Linked DNA regions of Homo sapiens: regions 1, 2, 4, 5, 6 and 7 are each linked to region 3. The links are contacts of gene promoters, found by promoter capture Hi-C in blood cells and fetal thymus (Javierre and others, 2016). All regions are on one chromosome and are shown on one strand. The core of a region is centred on a gene start or on the middle of the fragment in contact, and the rest is flanking DNA. Distances in the headings are between cores, read along the strand shown.

Region 1 (2,700 bases), core at 44-2,543, 210 kb after region 3:
GCATCATTGTTGGGTTCAGCCTGGTTGGGTTCAGCCAATGGAAAGTACGAGCAACAGAAGGAGGATGGGAGAGAACCCTTGATGCAATGCTGGCCACTCATCTCCCTTGGCTGCATTGCTTACCAGGCTCAGGTAATGCAGTTCCCTTTACTGTTGGATATAATGAGCTTCCTACTGTTAGTCTCTGGGTGGATCAGCATTGTCAATTCCCTTAACCCTTCAACCTCTGGGAGAAATCTCTTCAAAATCCCAACTGTGGACCTTCAAAATCCTGCTTAATGGATACAATGTCACCAAAAAATATTTATTGAATTTCTTTCATGGACCATGCACAGGGATACAAAGACATGATCCACTTTATGTAATTTGTCATCTAATGAGGGGTTCACGATCCAATTGTAGGATGTATTGCACTGCATTCCCAAGAATCATTCAGGAAGAAATCTTAGGAGGTTGGCATTCGTTGGGTGAATTTAGCCATAGCAGAATTGGCTTCAGCAAGCATCCCCTAGCTTTTGGGTTTACTTTCTATAAGTTAGGCTGGACATACGTACATGTAACTGTTTTTTTTAATTTTAAAATTATTTTATGCATACATAGTAGGTGCATATATTTATGGGGTACATGAGATATTCTGAAGCATACAGTATGTAATAATTACATCAGCTTAAATGGAGTATCCATCACCTCAAGCATTTATCATTTCTTTGTGTTATAAACATTCCAATAAAACTTTTAGTTATTTTTAAATGTGTAATAGATTATTGTTGACTGTAGCCACCCTGTTGTGCTATTACATACCAGATCTTACTCATTCTATCTAACTATATTTTTATACCCCTTAACCATCCCCACTATCCTTCTTAGCCTCTGGTAGTGACTGTTCTACTGTCTATCTCTGTGAGTTCAGTTATGTTAATTTTTAGCTCACACAAATGAGTGAGAACATGCAAAATTTGTCTTTTTGTGCCTGGCTTAGTTCACTTAACATAATGGTCCTTCAGTTCCATTTATGTTGTTGCAAATGACAGGATCTCATTCTTTTTTATGGCTGAATAGTGCTCCATTGCATATATGTACCACATTTTCTTTATTCATTTATCTACTGATGGACACTTAGGTTGATTTCAAATCTTGCCTATTGTGAAAAGTGCTGCAATAAACCTGGTAGTAAAGATATCTCTTCAGTATGTTGACTTCCTTTCTTTTAGGTCATATATTTAACATTCAATATGCCCAGTGCTGAAACAATATGTTATAATTACTCCATACTCTTTCTAATCTGAGGTACAACGTTTATCAAGGAAGGCTGCTTATTTGTTGTGCCTTTGGGTTTTGAAAACTGCCTGATTATGGATATGCAATGGCTTGGCCAATCAGACTAAAGTAAGGTAAGGCTGGCCTGTAGGCATAACTTTGTGTTCTGAAGGAAATCAAAATATTTCACCCTAAAATATACTTCTTTGATGTATTTTGAGATGGCTGTTGAGAGGGCCCACAAACAGAACTAGCCCTGCAAAGCTGTCTATTGTGAGGGAGATTTGTATTTGTAGAGAAAATCTGCATTGATGCAGCCAGGCTTTTTCTGAGACTCTCGCTTGTCCAGATCTAGGAAAGAGTAAGAATCTGATGCCTTGAAAGGTCTGAAAGAAACATTTTCCATCTCTTCTCTGAGGGCTGCTACCTGTAAGGTTTCATCTACATAACAAGACCACCTTTGCTAGCCAAGCCTCCTCTTCTTTCCCTCCCATAACGTGTCTTGTCACCATAACTTGATTTACCACCATACTCTCTTTTTTGGTCATTGACTGAACCCCCATTCTTTCAAGATGATGTAGAAGTGTTAACCACCTGGTCATTTCTTTGAGTTTTTCATTTTTATGTATGACTCACATGCACATGTGTGCATGTAATAAAATTTTTATGCCTTTTCTTCCTGTTAATCTTGTATTAGCAGTTTATTATATAGACTTAAATTATCAAGCCTTCAGAAAAATTTAAACTTCTCTGTAGCTCCATGGTTCCCACAGTGTCCATGTTCCTTCATAAAATGGAATGAGTGTTCTCAGATTGTGCTGGGCTTAAGGCAGTGAGGGAATGAATGTTTTCCCTTTGCCAGAGGAGGTATATGTTAGGATTGTACTTTCTGGCTCCCTGTGGTTCATTCAACCAATCTGGTCGTTGAGCCATGAACAAAAGTGACATGTATCACTTCCAGGCCAGAGCATTTAACTGCTAATGTGAGATACTCCAAAGCTCTTTCCTTCTACCCGGCAAAGTTCAAGGTTGTAGCTCTTCCAGCAGCCTGGGTCTTAGTGAGGAGACACGAGTCCTTAGCTAACTTGCTGACTTGCAGTGAACATGTGTTGTATGTCAGGAATAAACCTCCAGTAGTGAAAGCCTATCCTTTCTTCACTGATATGAAGACACGCACATAATCCACAGGAGACAAGTCATAGGGATTGCTTTTCTCCTTTGTAAAAAGTCTTAAGTCATGTGATTCTAATTGATACCTCAGCAGCAATAGAGTTTCTTTTAAACACTTCATTCTTTGATAATACAAACTTTGTGAAACTGGTTTCGCAAAAATTATAAATGAGGCAATTATTACAGTGAAGGATATCTGACTTAACTGACTCCATCTTGCTTCTAACCTCCAAGCTGTCCTGGTTCATTCCTGGGCATAGGCCAAATTAACTT
Region 2 (2,700 bases), core at 74-2,573, 150 kb after region 3:
TTAACTGAACCCTGCTGCTAGCTCCTTGTCACATCTGCTTGGAATGAAAGGACAGAGAGCTAGGATAAACCAGGTGGTCCTATGTTTGCTGAGCTTGCAAACCAGGTGGTCTGATGTTTTCGTTGCTGCTGGCTGATAGGTCTCTCTATGTGTCAGAGTTTGGTCTGAGTCTTGATCTCATTACAGCAGACCACCTGGCTGAGAGGTGGTGGGGAGGAGACTGTGGCCTTCACCCCTCTAACCACTGATGGCTGCCAGAAGGCTAAGAACCTAATACTGTAATCTTGAATGACCTACAGTGAAGGTCAACTTGAAGGAATATATTTGGAGGGCAGTGATAGCAATGAATATGGAAAAGCAAGAATGTATGCGAGGGATACAAACAAGACCACAATCAGCAGGATTTGGGGGCTGATTCAATATGGCAGCAACCAAGACGGTATGTCAAAAACAAGACATACGTGTGTATGTGTGAAGAGATAAATAAGCATACAAAGTATTTCACATAGTTTATTTGATTCTCACAACAGTGCAGAGGTGTGGATCGGGCAGTTATTAGAAACAGAGGTGTGGCCAGGCGCGGTGGCTCATGCCTGTAATCCCAGGACTTTGGGAGGCTGAGGCGGGCGGATCACAAGGTCAGGAGATCAAGACCATCCTGGCTAACACGGTGAAACCCCGTCTCTACTAAAAATACACAAAAAATTAGCCGGGCGTGGTGGCAGGCGCCTGTGGTCCCAGCTACACGGGAGGCTGAGGCAGGAGAATGGCGTGAACCCGGGAGGTGGAGCTTGCAGTGAGCCAAGGTCGCACTACTGCACTCCAGCCTGGGGGACAGTGCAAGACTCCGTCTCGAACAAACAAACAAAACAAACAAACAAACAAAAAACAGAGGTGCAGTGCTATATAAACATGTCAGGGATGTGCTCAAAGTCACACGGCCGAGAACTGGAGAACTGGCAGTGTTGGGATCCAGACTCAGATTTTCAGACCCCAAGTCGGTTTCTCTTTCCATTATGTCTCATAGAGAAAAAGATTATTTTTGTTTGTTTGTTTGTTTGTTTTCATTATTGCTAGTATTATTTTTAGAGACAAGCCTGGCTCTGTCACCCAGGCTGGTGTGAAGTGGCATGATCATAGCCCACTGCACCATCGATCTCCTGGGCTCCAGCAATCTTCCCATCTCGGCCTCTCAAAGTGTTGGGATTACAGACATGAGCCACTGTGCCTGGCCACAAAGATTCTAAGGCTGGGTGACTGGGAGAAATAGAGAGGCTGAGAAGGAAGCAAAGAGGGCTGAGGCCAAGGTACTGAGGAGCAGTGGATGGAGGCAGATAGTGAAAGACTGGTGGGAGCGCCCTCAGATGGAGGAGGAATGAGCCCCTGAAGGAGTCCTTTCCCCCACGTGTGTGGATGACATCCACTCTTCACATGAGAGAGGCACAGCCTCTCTGTTCAGCAAGAGTCAGGCTCGCCAGGCTGTTGCCTAAATCTAAGGACAATTCTGCATAGGAATCCAAGGTGCCCCTACAGCTCACTCTCCAGATGGCAGATTTCCTTGGGCCCTTCCTTCTGTTTGGGGCATCCTGTTTCACCCTCAGACTGCCTCCATTCACAAACAAAAAGAGCCTCTTGCCCTAAACTTAGCTTGGGGAAAAGGATTTTTTCATGCATCAAGGGAAAAGAGGAAACCAAAGCCATAGAACATATTTCCGTTGGCTGTGTCCCTGCTGACATGTGGTGATTCATCAGAGTGTGACACAACAGACCCTTTATGGTGATTAGCACTGGCTTGTTGAGCAAAGTCTCCTATCTCAGTATCCTTTTGCTGTTTCGAAAAACAAGTAAATAAATAGGATAAATAGCACATTCTCTATGGATGTCCACAACACCATAGAATGAGAGCGAACACAAAACACCCTATGTTGGCTTTTTTATTTGTCATCACTTTTTAATTTAGACCAGTGGTTTCCATTGCTCCTGGGGAGCCTTTTAAAAATACAGATTCCTAGGTCTGGCCTCTGCTGGTTCTGATTTTGTAAATATAAAAAAGAGCCTGTTTTCCTCCAGAGAGTCGGCAATGTTTATGCTGAAAGAACCTTTGCTCCTTTGTTCTAGGACAGGCTACAGGCTTGAGTGAAGAGAGAACTTTCCTTATGCTCTTTGCCAATGTCCATGTGGTCTCATTTGATTGGAGCCACTCATCAGATTAGTGATCTTGTGCCTCCAGGCCTGGGCTAGCTCTGTTCTCCATGGGTGCTTTCCCAACTTTTCCATCTGGCCTCAACCTTCTGTTCCTAAATTGGCCTTGACAGATTTAGAAGGTGCCTTGGAGACATATCTGTGCCCAATGAACAACTTAACTTGGCATGGGTCTCTGGGCATGAGGGCTGATGGGCCAGAGGATAGTCTGGGTTTCTGAAAGTAGTGCATGACAGAGAAACTGACCAGGGAAAGAGATTTTTGGGAAACACATTTCTGAGGTTGTCTGGGAGGTGCAGACAAAATCTGGTAAGTTTTGAGGCGTAAAAAGCAGCCTGGAACAAAGGGTTGGAGAGGTTGCAAACTTTATTCCCATTTCTGTATTTTAATTCTTCTTGCTTAGCTTCCAGGTGAACTGGATATATCCCTGGGCAGGCAGTGTACATCTTCTTAGAGCCTTACACCTCAGTGTGAATGAGTATATTAGATTCTCTCCTG
Region 3 (2,700 bases), core at 115-2,614:
AGGTGGGGGTGCCGCCCGAAGGGCCGGGCCGGGTGCTGGGGCTGCAGGCGCCGCCGCCGCGCTGTCAGCGTCCGCCCCGTGGCTCTCGGCCGGAGGAGCGGCGGCCGCCGGCCCGGGGCGCGAGTCTGGCTGAAAGGAGCGGGCGCGCCGGGACCACCCGGCGATGCTGTCGCCGCCGCCGCCGCCTCTGTAGCGAGCACCCGAGCCCGCCGCGGAGAAAGGTCAGTGAGTTTCGGTTTGTTTCTCTGCTCTGCCGGCTCCGGATCGGGGGCGGACAGAGGGGTGCGCAGGGATGTCTGCGCCCCTACGGCGGCCGCGCCGAAGCCGTGGAAGCGGGAAAGGGCAGCTGCCGCCTGCTGTAACTGGGGAGATCTTCTGGACCGCGGAGGGGGTGGCGGGGCCGCAGGGTCCCGGGGAGGGGAGCGCGGGGTCTGGCGGGGCACGGGGGAGGTGGTCCCGGGAGTTGCGTGTCTCCTGAGAGCTGGCGGAGTTGGGCGGGCGGCCGCGGCGGGGAGCGGCGCTGTCGGCTGCTCGGCCGAGTCCTCGGATGCCCCCTGGAGCTCCGGTCCGAGGGAGCTTTCCTCGTGCCCGCGCCGCGCGCGCCCCTGGGTGTGCACGTGCGCGCGCGCCCGCCCCAGTTGCGCCCCCGGCCCGCACACACCCCGGCTCATCTTCTCCCGGTCCCCTTGTCTCGCGCCTTCTCCAGCCCTAGAAGTTGCCCCAGGGCCCCTCCCGGGATTAGAGAGCGCTGTGAAGGGCCAGATGTTGGGGGTCTTTTGTGCAGACACACGCGCCTGGGGCGCTTGCTCCTGGAAGGACAGCGGCAGGACAAAGCCAGCTGGACTCGTGGGGCGCTGCTCGGGAAGCGGCGGTCCCCAATCCCGCCTGGGGTCGGGGCATGGCTTGGGGAGCGCTGCCTGGGTCTGGAGAGAGTAGAGAAATCGCCAAAGCAGAGTGACGGTGACTTGATGAGGTGACGGTGACTTGATGAGGTGGCGGTGACTTGATGAGGTGGCGGACAGGGGCAAACGAAAGAAAGATGCTCGGGATTGCCGCGCTGTGTGCCTGTCTGCGCGGCTGACTAGGCGCCCCGCATTCCCATATGACCGGGTTACCTGGTAGATTTTGCCAGTGTGTCTTTGCCCCAAGATGTTATTCCCCACCTGCTCCGATTTCTTTCTTTCCTAGGGCTTACTGTTGCTAGTAGGCGCTCTGCCACCAGAGGGGAACTCGTGGGCGGGGGAGACTGCGGAGGAGGGGGGAGGTGGTTATTTATCCTGTAGAGACAATTAGGAGCCGTGACGCCCCCTTCTCGGCCGCCAGCCCTCCACACCTCATCTGCCTTGCTCCACCTCCCTAGTGCACCCGCTCCAGCCCCGTCTGCCCAGGAGGGCGCTTGGATTTCCTTCTCCGCGGCGCGTATCTAACCCTTCCTGCATGTATTTCACTGCAGGCTGAAGAAAGCTCAGTCTCAATTGTGTTTCCTGCCTGTCAGCCTCTTGCCTCCTAAACGTGTACCATTTCCACTTGATGTCATCACGCAGAAGGGGTGAAAGAGACTCGGTGACAGATACAGGTAACCCCCCACGATCTGGGTAGCGCCTGGGTGTCTCTGGGTCATTTGGGCCGACAGTGCTGGCACAGGGCTGTTTGGGTGGTTTCTGCATCAACATCGTTCCTATCTGTGAGAAGGTGTGGGGGCTGCTAAAACTCCTGGTTCAAAGAAATAAATTGCAAATGACTTTATACCTTCCCTTTGAAGAAGCCATTGGAGGTAGGTGCAGGGTGAATTTGGGATTGTAGAAATCCCACCTGGTTTCCTTTCATGGGAATTTTGATATAATTCATACACAGGCAGTTGTATCTGAATGTTAGGTTTCCATAGATGCCTGCTTTCTTATCTGTAGTAATAGATTTAGGCTTCAGTCTAGAGGTGGGGTATCCTTTGTTGAAAAGGTATCATTGGAAGGCTGATTGTACTTTTGCCCAGTGCTCTAATTGAGCACCGGTCAAATGCAGTGACCTTCGTATGAAATACTGTCTTTCTTCTGTTCCTTCATTGTAATAGTGTTTGCAATATTAAGAGAGACATGCTAGCAGTGAGTACTGGGAGGTGGAAGGGAGGGCTGTTGGGGGCAGCAGAAAGAGAACAGAGAAAACAGCTTGAGTGAAGTTTCCATTTAGATAGCCATGAACCAGTAGACTCTCATTCTGGATTTTATCTTTAGGTTATTGGGGCTTTTCCAAAAACTCTGGCCTGTTCTTTTCTTTCCAAGGATAGTTCTGTTTTGATGTCAGCCTAGCCAGATCTGGGGTTATCTTGATAAGAGTGCAATGAAAAAACGTAACCTTCAGACTTAGCAGGACACTCCGGCATTAGCATTTTCTGCTAGAGGGCAGAGTCCTGCGCATCCTACACTAGTAGCAGGGAATAAGAATGGTTATGGAAATGGGCTTTCGATTTTTCTTGTAGGAAGACAGATTGCTGAGGGCCAAAGGCTCCTGGTCTACTCTCTTTTACATTGCAGTAACACCTTGGTATCTGTGACAGATTCTCTCTTCACCATTTTCCTCCAAATCCCTTGAAAAATGAAGTTAAAAACTTGAAAGATTTATTATTCACCTCCAATGTAGTTTTGTTTTGGAAGGTGACTTTAAAAACATAGGTGACACTAGCATTTATCCTTCTACTACAAGCAT
Region 4 (2,700 bases), core at 89-2,588, 180 kb before region 3:
GGTTGGGCGTGGTGGCTCATGCCTGTAATCCCAGCACTTTGGGAGGCCGAGGCGGGCGGATACGAGGTCAGGAGTACAAGACTAGCCTGACCAACATGGTGTAACCCCGTCTCTACTAAAAATACAAAAATTATCCGGGCGTTGTGGCGGGTGCCTGTAGTCCCAGCTACTTGGGAGACTGAGGCAGGAGAATCGCTTGAACCCAGGAGGCGGAGGTTGCAGTGAGCCAAGATTGTACCACTGCACTCCAGCCTGGGCGACGGAGCGAGACTCCATCTCAAAAAAGAAAAAAAAAATCAACAATGAAATATCATTACACACTTACCAGAACAGTTTATCAGAATAGTTAAAAACAAATAGTGGCATCACCAAATGCTGTTGAGGATGTAAGGAAATTGCTCTCATGCATTGCTAGTGGAAATGTAACATGGTACAACCACTCTGAAAAGAGTTTTACAGTTTCTTATGAAACTAAACATGCTACTGTTGTATGACCTAGCAATTGCACTCTTGATGTATTTTCCTAGAGAAATGAAAGGTTTACACAAAAAATTAGACACAAATGTTTATAAAAGCTTTATTTGTAAGAGCCACAAACTGGAACAATAGCCACAAGTAGAAACAACCCTTGATGTCCTTTGGTGCTTGAATGGTTAAGTAAACCATTGTATATCCATATGATGGAGTACTATTCAGCCATAAAAGTAAATGACCCATTGATACAGCACCTTGGATGATTCTTGAGAAAATTATGCTAAGTGAGAAAAGCCAATCCCAGAAGGTTACAAAAGGTAACAAAGTGTTATATAAATTGTTCAACTTGTTATGTATGTGATTCTACTCATAAAACACTCTTAAAATGACAAAATTATAGAAATGGGGGACAGATTAGTGGCTCTCAGGGGTGAGGGATTAGGCAGAGGGATGGTGAGGGGAGGACAGATGTGGCTATAAAATGGCATCATGAGAGATCTTTGTGCTGATGGGAACACTCTTTACCTTGACAGTATCAGTGTCATTGTCCTGCTTGGGATATTATACTATGGTTTTACAAGATCTTCCCACTGGGGGAAACTGGGTAAAGGGTACAGAGGATCCCTCTGTATTATTTCTTGAAATTGCATATTAGTTAACAATTACCTCAAAAGTTTAGTTTTGAAAATCATAATGTATGTCCCTTTCATTTTACTGAAATAAATATTCAGAGCACTTAATAACACATTTTACAGTCCAGCTCATCTCTATGGTATGGTCACCCATGATAATATGAAAAGAACCTTTGAAAGTTGTATTTTCAGAAGCAAAAATACCAACAATACTAGGTTATTTGCCTAGTCTCACTTGGATTTTAATGAGCTTGAAAAATGCACCTGTTGTATTAGATGTAATTTTTCCTTCTTTTTTTTTCCAGCCTTTTTCTCATTGTTCTCGTCATATCAGACATTATGGCTTTGGTAAGGCATTACTGGGTAGTCCATATAAATTAGATTAAGAGTCCTGGGTTAATTTAATAAAGAGAAATATGAATGCATTTTGGTACGTGAAATCTTTAGATGTTGAGTTGTAAGTGCTGGCATAATTTACACAATAAATTATGTTCTTTTATATTAGTTATGCAGGATGTGTGCTCTTCTTCAGGTGTCAAAAGTCTTACTACTTGAATTTGTCATACCTCGTCTTCCATGTTGCTTTGTATCTGAAATGAACCTTCCAAAGAAAATTAGCAGAAAAAGCTAACTTTAAATTTAGATAATACATCATTTTTCTACTGAAATGTTGATTTTTAACCCTTCTCTCAGATTAAAAATGAAAGGAAAAGAGGGAGGGAAGGAAGGAAGGAAACAGGAAATACAGCTTTTCTGTTGGGAAGATGTTAATCAAGACGTAGCTGCAATAAATGAGTTCTGATGTATGTAGGTAGGCCTCTCTCATTAACAAAAAGAGGAACCTATTTTATGTCTACAACTTTGGGGAGTTCCCAAGACCACCCTCAGCTTTAGTAATTCACTAGAATTCACTGAAATCACTGAATGCTGTTATATTCAGTTACAGTTTATTCCAGTGCATAGGGCAGAGTCCAGGACACCAAATGCCAAGCTTCTGTTTCTCCCTGTGGAATCAGGACAGCATTACCCTCCCACTATTGATGTGTGACAGTACACATGGAGTATTGCCAACCAGGCTTACCTAAGCTTTGTTGTCCAGACTTTTTAGTGGGGCTTGATCACATACTGCCTACCTGGCTGACCTTTAATCCCTTCTGGGGATACAGCTGGTAATATGGCCCAAAGCCCTCATCATATATCACATTATTAGACTGTCCAGTGGCCAAGCCCTCAGGCAGAACCTTCTATGAGGCATGACATTCCATGACATTCCAAGGGCCCAGAAATTGCCTCCCAGTAGCTGAGAATGAACACCAGCGGTCTTTTTGGGTAAGGTTAATTTGTCACCATATAACATCCCATGCCAGAAGTAACTAGGAATACTAATAAGGGTAGCTTCCCAAATCAGATTCCTAGTCACTCGGTTTAGATGAGAGTACTTTTGTGTGGTGGTGAACCATTATTCATTGTATTTCTGAAACTGACCACACATAATGTGAGAGCAAATCAGCTTTCAGTTTTGTGCAAAGTGACAAACAGACATATTAATAGAAGAGGATTGAAATTCTGATTAATTTTGTATAAAAAAGATTGC
Region 5 (2,726 bases), core at 99-2,598, 190 kb after region 3:
GCATTATTGTATGGCACCAAAGTCTTGGGACTCTTTGATCTAGCTACTGCATTTTCTCAACTTTGTTGCAACTTGTCAAAGAGAATATTCATATTAAAGGCATTTGCAAAAAATCTGAAAAAATAAATAAAATAAAATAAAATCTGACCCTTCCTTATCAAACCCTGATTGCCACTGTGCCCAGCATGCTCTCTCCAGTCTCCGTGCTGGGCTTGCTGAGAACAGGAATGCGCATGTCTTGTAATCACTGTCTCCAGCACCTGCCCAGCCCCCAGCACCTGCACAGCCCCCAGCGCGTAACAGGTGCTCCAGTATGAGAATGCTCAAGAAGGGCTCTTGGCTTTCCTCACCATGGAGCACACTCTTCCCATCTGTTCTCTGCTCTCTTGCACCCAGGATGCCTTGCCATCTCTCCCAGACCCATTTAATTCCTACCAACTTCCAATCAAGGTGCCAGAGGGAGCATGTACACTCTCCCCTACCTTCCATTCCACTGGCGTAAGGTGAAATATTGCTTTAAAAAATTTAAATATATGCAACCCATTCCAAAACAGTTTAAGAATGCCCAAAATGCCAAGAGGAAAATCTCTGTGAACCTGAGTGCAGAGGAAACTCACATTGATGAGGGAGGGGGTTGAAGTCACATGACCCAAGGGACTCATGGCCAGACAAGGGGTGGTGGGCCCTGGTCTTCAGCACTGCCTGGGAAGGTCTGCAGGGCCCATGGTGGGACACTGGAATCTCTGTGCAGCCACAGCCCCCAGAGTGAAATAACTCCACTAGAGAGCCCAGAGGTGGGTGGCAGCTGGAAGTAAGCAGCTCTGGGAGGAAACAGAGGCCACCAAGCAAAACAGGAGTGAGATTGGGTGGCACAAATGGAGCACTTCCCATCTAGGGTGAGAGTCTGTGAAGGTTAATTTTATGTGTCAATGTGGCTAGGTCATGATATCCACATATTGTTCAAATGTTATTCTAGATATTTCTGTGAAGGCATTTTTTTAGATGAGATTAACATTTAAATCAGCAGTAGGCCAGGTGTGGTGGCTCATGCCTATAATCCTGGCCAAGGCAGGAGGATCGCTTGAAGCCAGGAGTTGGAGACCAGCCTGTGCAATACAGCAAGACGTTGTTTCTACAAAAAATAAAATAATTAATCAGGTGTTGTGGGATGCACTTGTAATCCTCACTACTCCTATCTACTTGGGAGGCTGAAGTGGGAGAACTGCTTGAGCACAGGAGTTCAAGACCATCTTGGGCAACATAGCAAGAGCGCATCTCCACAAAAAATTTTAAAAATTGCCTGGGCATGGTGACATATGCTTGTAGTCCCAGCTAGCTAGGAGGCTGTGGTGGGAAGATCACTAGAGTCCAGGAATTCAAGGTTACAGTGAGGTATGATTTTGCCACTGCACTTCAACCTGGGCAACAGAATGAAACTCTATCTCTAAAAAACAAATCAGTAGACTTTGAGTATAGCAGATTATGCTTCTATTATATAAGTTCTGCCTATAGATGGTTTTTGGACTCGAACTACAATTCATCCCTAGGTCTCCAAACTGCTGGCTTACCCCACAGATTTTGGGTTTACCAACCCTCCACAATCACACGTTCCTTAAAATCTCTCTTTCTCTCTCTATATATCTCCTGTTGGTTCTGTTCTCTGGAGATCCATGACTATTACAGAGTCCTAAACCACTTAATATAGGAAATTGCCAATGTTTTAGACCAAGGATGTTAAGATGGAAGGAGTTCAGCACCAAATGCTGAGCAGGATGAACTCAACAACCACCATGAAACCTCACATCTATGTATAATTGTTCATTTATCAGGAGCTATTGATTTAGTGATTTATTGCCAGGTCCTGTTCTAGGTACTGTGTATTCAGTGGGGGAACACACACACATATATAATATGCATCTAGAATATAATATATGTGTTTTTTATATATATACTTATATATATATAACTTTAAATTCATGTATAGGTAAGTATTATGAAGGAAAAATAAACTAGAGTAAAAGGAGGTATTTTAGATCAAATGGGCAAGGAAAGTCTTTCTGAAGAGGTGGCATTTAAGCCAAGACTGAATGAAGTGGGGAACAAGTCAAGTGAAATGGCCAAACATGGAGAACAAAAGGGGAAGTCTTACAAGCAAGCAGTAAGAAAAGACTTGTCCCTCACAAAAGAATGGCCAGCAGATTGGCAGCTGCCTCTTCAGCACTGAGGGTAAATGCTAGAATAATTCCTTCCCCAAGTATTGTTCAGGAGTGAGAGTGAAACAGACATAGCCAGACACCAGGGCTAGGAGGGTTTGCTATCAGAGTGCCTTCCTGAAAGAACTGCTAAACTTTACGTATTTCCTGCAGGAGAAAATGAATCCAAAAGGTGTGGAACAGAAAAACAATGGTGAACAAAGAAATCATTGAAACGTGTCCAAAATCAAGCTATATTTTCCCTGTATTTTCAAACTTTTGTGCATAATATACTAGATAAACATCTGGAAGATGGGAAATAGGGGAAATGTGGGAAAATGTCAGTGTTTAAGGTCTTTGTCTTGATGAGGAGGAGGTTAGAGATTCTGAGCCTATTTAGAGATTCTGAGTCAATTTACAACAATACATAGCTTCTCCTCATTCTGCACAGTCTAGATTGGGTTGGATTGAGCCGCTTTCATGAGTTGTTTCTAATTACCCAGTCCTCTTTCATTTACCTCCAGAACTCCTCTA
Region 6 (2,702 bases), core at 203-2,702, 200 kb before region 3:
AAAACAAGGACAGAAAATGTGTACAGTTTTACAGAAGAGGTCTCATTTGAACTGACTTTTATTATTTGCTTTTTATTTTTTTATTTCTTAACAACCACCGTATGTCCAACAGATTAACTGACTTTTAAAATCAGACATATTGAAATGTTATTCCTTCCAGTTAAAATATGTATCAGTTTATTATGATTGGAGCTACACATCTGGAAAAAAAGTCAGAAGCTACTCATCTAAGGGTATTAAAAAATGTAACTTCATAGTCTTAAATCTTGCAGTGACTTGACTTTAGGTGAAATTGACATTACATGTAACTTAATTTAGAAGATGTTGACTAATAATAATAACCACAGTTAACAGTTACTAAGCACTATGTGCTAGGCACTATGCTCAGGGAACATTGTATAGGTGAAATTGTATTTAATCCTCACAACTTTTTAATGTTATCTCTATTTGACAGGTGGGTAAATTTCTGCTTGGATCAGTTAATGAACTTGCCCTATAGTTTAAACAGTTAGTAAGTGATTCAGCCGGGATTTCATCCCAACTTGTCTATCTTCAACCTCTAGAGCACTAGGGGGATTAGAAAGTTATGCACATTTCCTTCCCAGAATAGAGATGGAGGAGTTTATGTTTTGCCACCCCACCCACTTCATCTGCCCTTCCTCCACTTGGGTAGTTGCTTTTATTATCCCGGGGGAGAGTCGATACATCTCTCATGCATGGTGAAGTCATTCCTGTTTCTCTTTTCCAAGGGGCATACTGCAACTGTCAGTGCATACTTTACGGTGGGAAAACTTGGAGAAGGAATGGGTTAGGAAAAAATCAGTTTCTGAGGAGTAAGTTGTCTTTGAACTAAGATATAAATGCCTAATTAAGCAAAGAGTGCTAAATCTTGAGTAATACTTTTATTTCATTAGAAAATAATTCATTTTTGGGTATATACCCAGTAATGGGATGGCTGGGTCAAATGGTATTTCTAGTTCTAGATCCCTGAGGAATCGCCACACTGACTTCCACAATAGTTGAACTAGTTTACAGTCCCACCAACAGTGTAAAAGTGTTCCTATTTCTCCGCATCCTCTCCAGCACCTGTTGTTTCCTGACTTTTTAATGATTGCCATTCTAACTGGTGTGAGATGATATCTCATAGTGGTTTTGATTTGCATTTCTCTGATGGCCAGTGATGATGAGCATTTCTTCATGTGTTTTTTGGCTGCATAAATGTCTTCTTTTGAGAAGTGTCTGTTCATGTCCTTCGCCCACTTTTTGATGGGGTTGTTTGTTTTTTTCTTGTAAATTTGTTTGAGTTCATTGTAGATTCTGGATATTAGCCCTTTGTCAGATGAGTAGGTTGCGAAAATTTTCTCCCATGTTGTAGGTTGCCTGTTCACTCTGATGGTAGTTTCTTTTGCTGTGCAGAAGCTCTTTAGTTTAATTAGATCCCATTTGTCAATTTTGTCTTTTGTTGCCATTGCTTTTGGTGTTTTGGACATGAACATGCTGCTATAAAGACACATGCACACGTATGTTTATTGCGGCACTATTCACAATAGCAAAGACTTGGAACCAACCCAAATGTCCAACAATGATAGACTGGATTAAGAAAATGTGGCACATATACACCATGGAATACTATGCAGCCATAAAATATGATGAGTTCATATCCTTTGTAGGGACATGGATGAAATTGGAAACCATCATTCTCAGTAAACTATCGCAAGAACAAAAAACCAAACACCGCATATTCTCACTCATAGGTGGGAATTGAACAATGAGATCACATGGACACAGGAAGGGGAATATCACACTCTGGGGACTGTGGTGGGGTCGGGGGAGGGGGAAGGGATAGCATTGGGAGATATACCTAATGCTAGATGACACATTAGTGGGTGCAGCGCACCAGCATGGCACATGTATACATATGTAACTAACCTGCACAATGTGCACATGTACCCTAAAACTTAGAGTATAATAAAAAAAAAAAAAAAAAAAAAAAAAAAGAAAATAATTCATTTTTGAGTTAATATTATTATAGTTATCTGGGCTGAATATAAATTGAGAAAATATGGGCGTAGTTAAAAAAATGAAATGTAATGTTAATTAAAAATGTGAGGCTTGACTGTGATTAGGGGAAATGTAGCCTCATGTTCAAGGTCACAAAACAATAAATGCCATAAATGATACTAGATTATTCAGAGCTTCTACAGTAACTTTTTTTTTTAAGATGGAGTTTCACTCTTGTCACCCAGGCTGGAGTGCAGTGGTGCAATCTCGGCTCACTGCAACCTCTGCCTCCCGGGTTCAAGCGATTCTCCTACCTCAGCCTCCTGAGTAGCTGGGATTACAGGCGCCTGCCACCACACCCAGCTAATTTTTGTATTTTTAGTAGAGACGGGGTTTTATCATGTTGGCAAGGCTGGTCTCGAACTCCTGACCTCAGGTGATCTGCCCACCTCGGCCTCCCAAAGTGCTGAGATTACAGGTGTGAGCCACCACGCCCGGCCCTACGCTAACATTTTTTTTGTGTCTCTTATACTGACAGATGACCTGTTCTGTTTCATTGCAGCCTCTTCCTTGGTTGTGCCACTACTGAGTTCTCCAGTTCTCTTTCAGCGATTGTTCAGCATACTTCTTTCATTGATGTCAACCTACCTACTTCTAAGCACAGGGTATAAACTTTTTAACAATTTAATTTTATAGCAGCA
Region 7 (2,700 bases), core at 8-2,507, 220 kb before region 3:
GCTCATGCCATACGTTTGGTGTTCTGCTAATTACTTCAATTTAATCAGAATTTCTTTGTTAGCCAGAGTATTACATTTCTTCAGAATGATGGATTATATGACTTTCATAAGTGTAGTTTGGCATTTGAAACTTCGAGTCAAGAAAACCAAATTTAACTATAAGCTATTTCTTGGAAGACTTCAGAGAACAAACAGCAATTCAGGTTTTTTTCTTTGATTTTTGTTTTGTTTGCTGTTTTGTAATTTTCACTATCTTTGTTTTTTAATTAAGGGGAAAAAAGAAACATATACTTGGAATGAGGAAACCCTTTAAACCTATTCTTTTTTTTATATATAGACTGCTTTCTGATTCCAAACAGTTCAACATTTTAAGAAAAGCAAGATCTTATATAAAACACAGAAAGTTTGATGAAGTGGTAAGTATACCGGCCTTATAGACATAAATAGCTGATTATCATTTTGGGGATGGAGAGGAGAAAAATAGAGCAAAGTAGGCAGGCCAGGGAGCTTTCTTGAGCCCTCAAGGAAGGATTGCATTTCCTGAGTAGCTGCTTTAGCAGTGGACAGATCTCTCTTATTTCAACTAATATTATGGGTAAATTTTTTTTTTTTTTTTTGAGACAGAGTGTCGCTGTTGCCCAGGCTGGAGTGCAGTGGCACAATCTCAGCTCACTGCAACCTCCGCCTCCCAGGTTCAAGCAATCCTCCTGCCTCAGCCTCCTGAGTAGCTGGGATTACAGGCATGCGCCACAACACCCAGCTAGTTTTTGTATTTTTAGTAGAGATGGGGTTTTGCCATGTTGGCCAGGCTGGTCTTGAACTTCTGACATCAGGTGATCCACCCGCCTTGGCTTCCCAAAGTGCTGGGATTACAGGCATGAGCCACCGCACCCGGCCCACATTTTTTTAGGTTAGCATTAGAAATAAACTATTACCATTTTTTAAAATGAGAAAATAGATGCCAAGTTTGTGTCACCCTTCTTAATGTATAATATTTTAGAATACTATATGTTTGCCACTTGGAATTATCTATACATTATTAAAAGTCTAATGATTCATGTTGAAATTTTGACTCTTCCAAACTCCTATCTCACTGTTTTTCATTAATTTTTCTTTGTTAAATGGTCATTTAATTTTAAAGTAGAAAAGAATTCTGTTTTCATTTCTAAAATTGCCTAAATAATTGCCAATCCGTGCATTTCTAATGCTTTTTTTGATGATTTTAAAATGATAAGCTATTCTTCTCCTGTAAAATATTAAGCTACTTAATGATGTTTTATAACTGATTTGAGTAATCTCATATGAGAAAAAATATAAATATGGCCATTATCATTATTTGGGACCTATATTAGAGAGCCTTCATTTCTTTTATGAGTTGTCTGAATATCATTTCCACAAACACACATATACAACACAAATAGTTTACATTTAAAATGCCCTTTCTTATTAAGATTAAAAAGTTCATTTTATTCCAAATTTTTCTCATACTTTAAAAGAAGATCCTGGAACAATTAAAATCTGTTCTTAATCCATCATCTACAGTTATTCACTAATTTTAATACAACAGTTTGGCTGTTAGGAATTTAAAATTTTCCTTTCTTTAAAATGTAGGTTTTCTTATTATTTCTGTTAGCAAGTTATATATGTTTTTTCTCCATAGGTCTCCCTTTGCAAGGAGCTAATTCATCTTGCATTGAAAGGATTGTCCTATTATCACACATATGACAGATTCTTTTTGGGCGTCAATGTTGTTATTGGTTTTGTGGGATGGATATCTTATGCCTCTTTGTTGATCATCAAGTCTCATTCCAACCTTATAAAAGGTGTTAGTAAAGAAGTGAAGGTACGTTTAGAAAATGTGAGGATTCAGATGATGGTATAAAATCACTAGTACTGAATCCAGTGTAATGAGTTTATAGGATGTGCAAGTCATTGTTCTAAGCTAACTCTTGTTTATCTTTCATTTGCTTTTATTGTATTGGATTTTTCCTCAGTTATCTCTGTTTCTTCAGTTGAGAAAAAGATATATTGATAATAATGATCCTATAACTTAAGAAAGCTATAAAGATAGAGGTGTAAGTAATTTAAGTGCTCCTATGTTATCAATGGTGTCGACCTTCTGTTTTATTTTATAACTAGCATTTTATAAGTATTCCATATCTTTCTAGTACAACTGGTCAGAAAACTACTTCAAAACAATATGTTTAATTTTATTTGATATTAAAAGTTTGGGAGCTAGAGAACAATAAAATTATTTGCTCATAATGTTTCTTCTTAAATGATGTATACATTTTTTAATTACTTACCTTCTTTTAACTTTTTGAAGTTTCTCAAAATGCAGATTTCTAGACCTCTCCAAGTATTCTTATTTTAAGAATTTGTTCCTACTTTACTATGCTTTCAGTGAAAAAATAAAAATTAAAAAAATCTCTTTAATGATACTTCATATTGCTGAGACAATATAACAGTATGTATATGGTTTTACTACATTAAAACACTTTACTCTTTTAAAATATATTTCTAACTATCATTTACCAGGGGCACTATGCCACTTTCATTTCCTTTGCTTCATTCTCTTTAATGATTATTACCATGTTCAAGTTCTCTAAAAAGTAATATATCCTGGTGGTGTATTTTTAATAATAGTCTGCAGATATTTCCAGTGGTAACTTTTCCAATTTTATATTTTATTATTCTGTA

Evidence for each region. Contacts are between HindIII fragments. The CHiCAGO score rates a contact against its expected background, and 5 or more counts as called.
Region 1: a contact is called between a fragment that was not itself captured here and the fragment with the promoter of RNF152 in region 3, in 1 of 17 cell types (M2 macrophages). The highest score is 6.5, in M2 macrophages.
Region 2: a contact is called between a fragment that was not itself captured here and the fragment with the promoter of RNF152 in region 3, in 1 of 17 cell types (M0 macrophages). The highest score is 5.1, in M0 macrophages.
Region 4: a contact is called between a fragment that was not itself captured here and the fragment with the promoter of RNF152 in region 3, in 1 of 17 cell types (M2 macrophages). The highest score is 6.8, in M2 macrophages.
Region 5: a fragment that was not itself captured here is called in contact with the fragment with the promoter of RNF152 in region 3 in 1 of 17 cell types (M2 macrophages); the score reaches 6.3 in M2 macrophages.
Region 6: a fragment that was not itself captured here is called in contact with the fragment with the promoter of RNF152 in region 3 in 1 of 17 cell types (M2 macrophages); the score reaches 7.6 in M2 macrophages.
Region 7: a fragment that was not itself captured here is called in contact with the fragment with the promoter of RNF152 in region 3 in 1 of 17 cell types (M2 macrophages); the score reaches 5.8 in M2 macrophages.

What each region holds. Positions count from the first base shown.
Region 1 is chr18:61,677,288-61,679,987 of GRCh38, reverse strand. No RefSeq gene overlaps it. Among named protein-coding and RNA genes, the nearest start is that of LINC01544, 70 kb to the left of the region's middle. The HindIII fragment of the contact is 7,786 bases long and covers 1-2,700 here.
Region 2 is chr18:61,737,736-61,740,435 of GRCh38, reverse strand. No RefSeq gene overlaps it. Among named protein-coding and RNA genes, the nearest start is that of LINC01544, 9.1 kb to the left of the region's middle. The HindIII fragment of the contact is 4,341 bases long and covers 1-2,700 here.
Region 3 is chr18:61,891,671-61,894,370 of GRCh38, reverse strand. RNF152 (ring finger protein 152) reads left to right here and starts at 1,364. Exons shown (of 2, transcript NM_173557.3): 1 at 1,364-1,576. RefSeq lists a silencer at 29-178. The HindIII fragment of the contact is 8,244 bases long and covers 1-2,700 here.
Region 4 is chr18:62,073,533-62,076,232 of GRCh38, reverse strand. PIGN (phosphatidylinositol glycan anchor biosynthesis class N) reads left to right here. Exons shown (of 31, transcript NM_176787.5): 29 at 1,412-1,454. Among named protein-coding and RNA genes, the nearest start is that of PIGN, 110 kb to the left of the region's middle. The HindIII fragment of the contact is 1,522 bases long and covers 578-2,099 here.
Region 5 is chr18:61,697,138-61,699,863 of GRCh38, reverse strand. No RefSeq gene overlaps it. Among named protein-coding and RNA genes, the nearest start is that of LINC01544, 50 kb to the left of the region's middle. The HindIII fragment of the contact is 8,587 bases long and covers 1-2,726 here.
Region 6 is chr18:62,095,812-62,098,513 of GRCh38, reverse strand. It overlaps PIGN (phosphatidylinositol glycan anchor biosynthesis class N), which reads left to right. Exons shown (of 31, transcript NM_176787.5): 23 at 2,564-2,666. Among named protein-coding and RNA genes, the nearest start is that of PIGN, 90 kb to the left of the region's middle. RefSeq lists an enhancer at 2,066-2,235. The HindIII fragment of the contact is 4,873 bases long and covers 1-2,702 here.
Region 7 is chr18:62,112,277-62,114,976 of GRCh38, reverse strand. PIGN (phosphatidylinositol glycan anchor biosynthesis class N) reads left to right here. Exons shown (of 31, transcript NM_176787.5): 15 at 338-416; 16 at 1,661-1,843. Among named protein-coding and RNA genes, the nearest start is that of PIGN, 73 kb to the left of the region's middle. RefSeq lists an enhancer at 171-340. The HindIII fragment of the contact is 4,101 bases long and covers 1-2,700 here.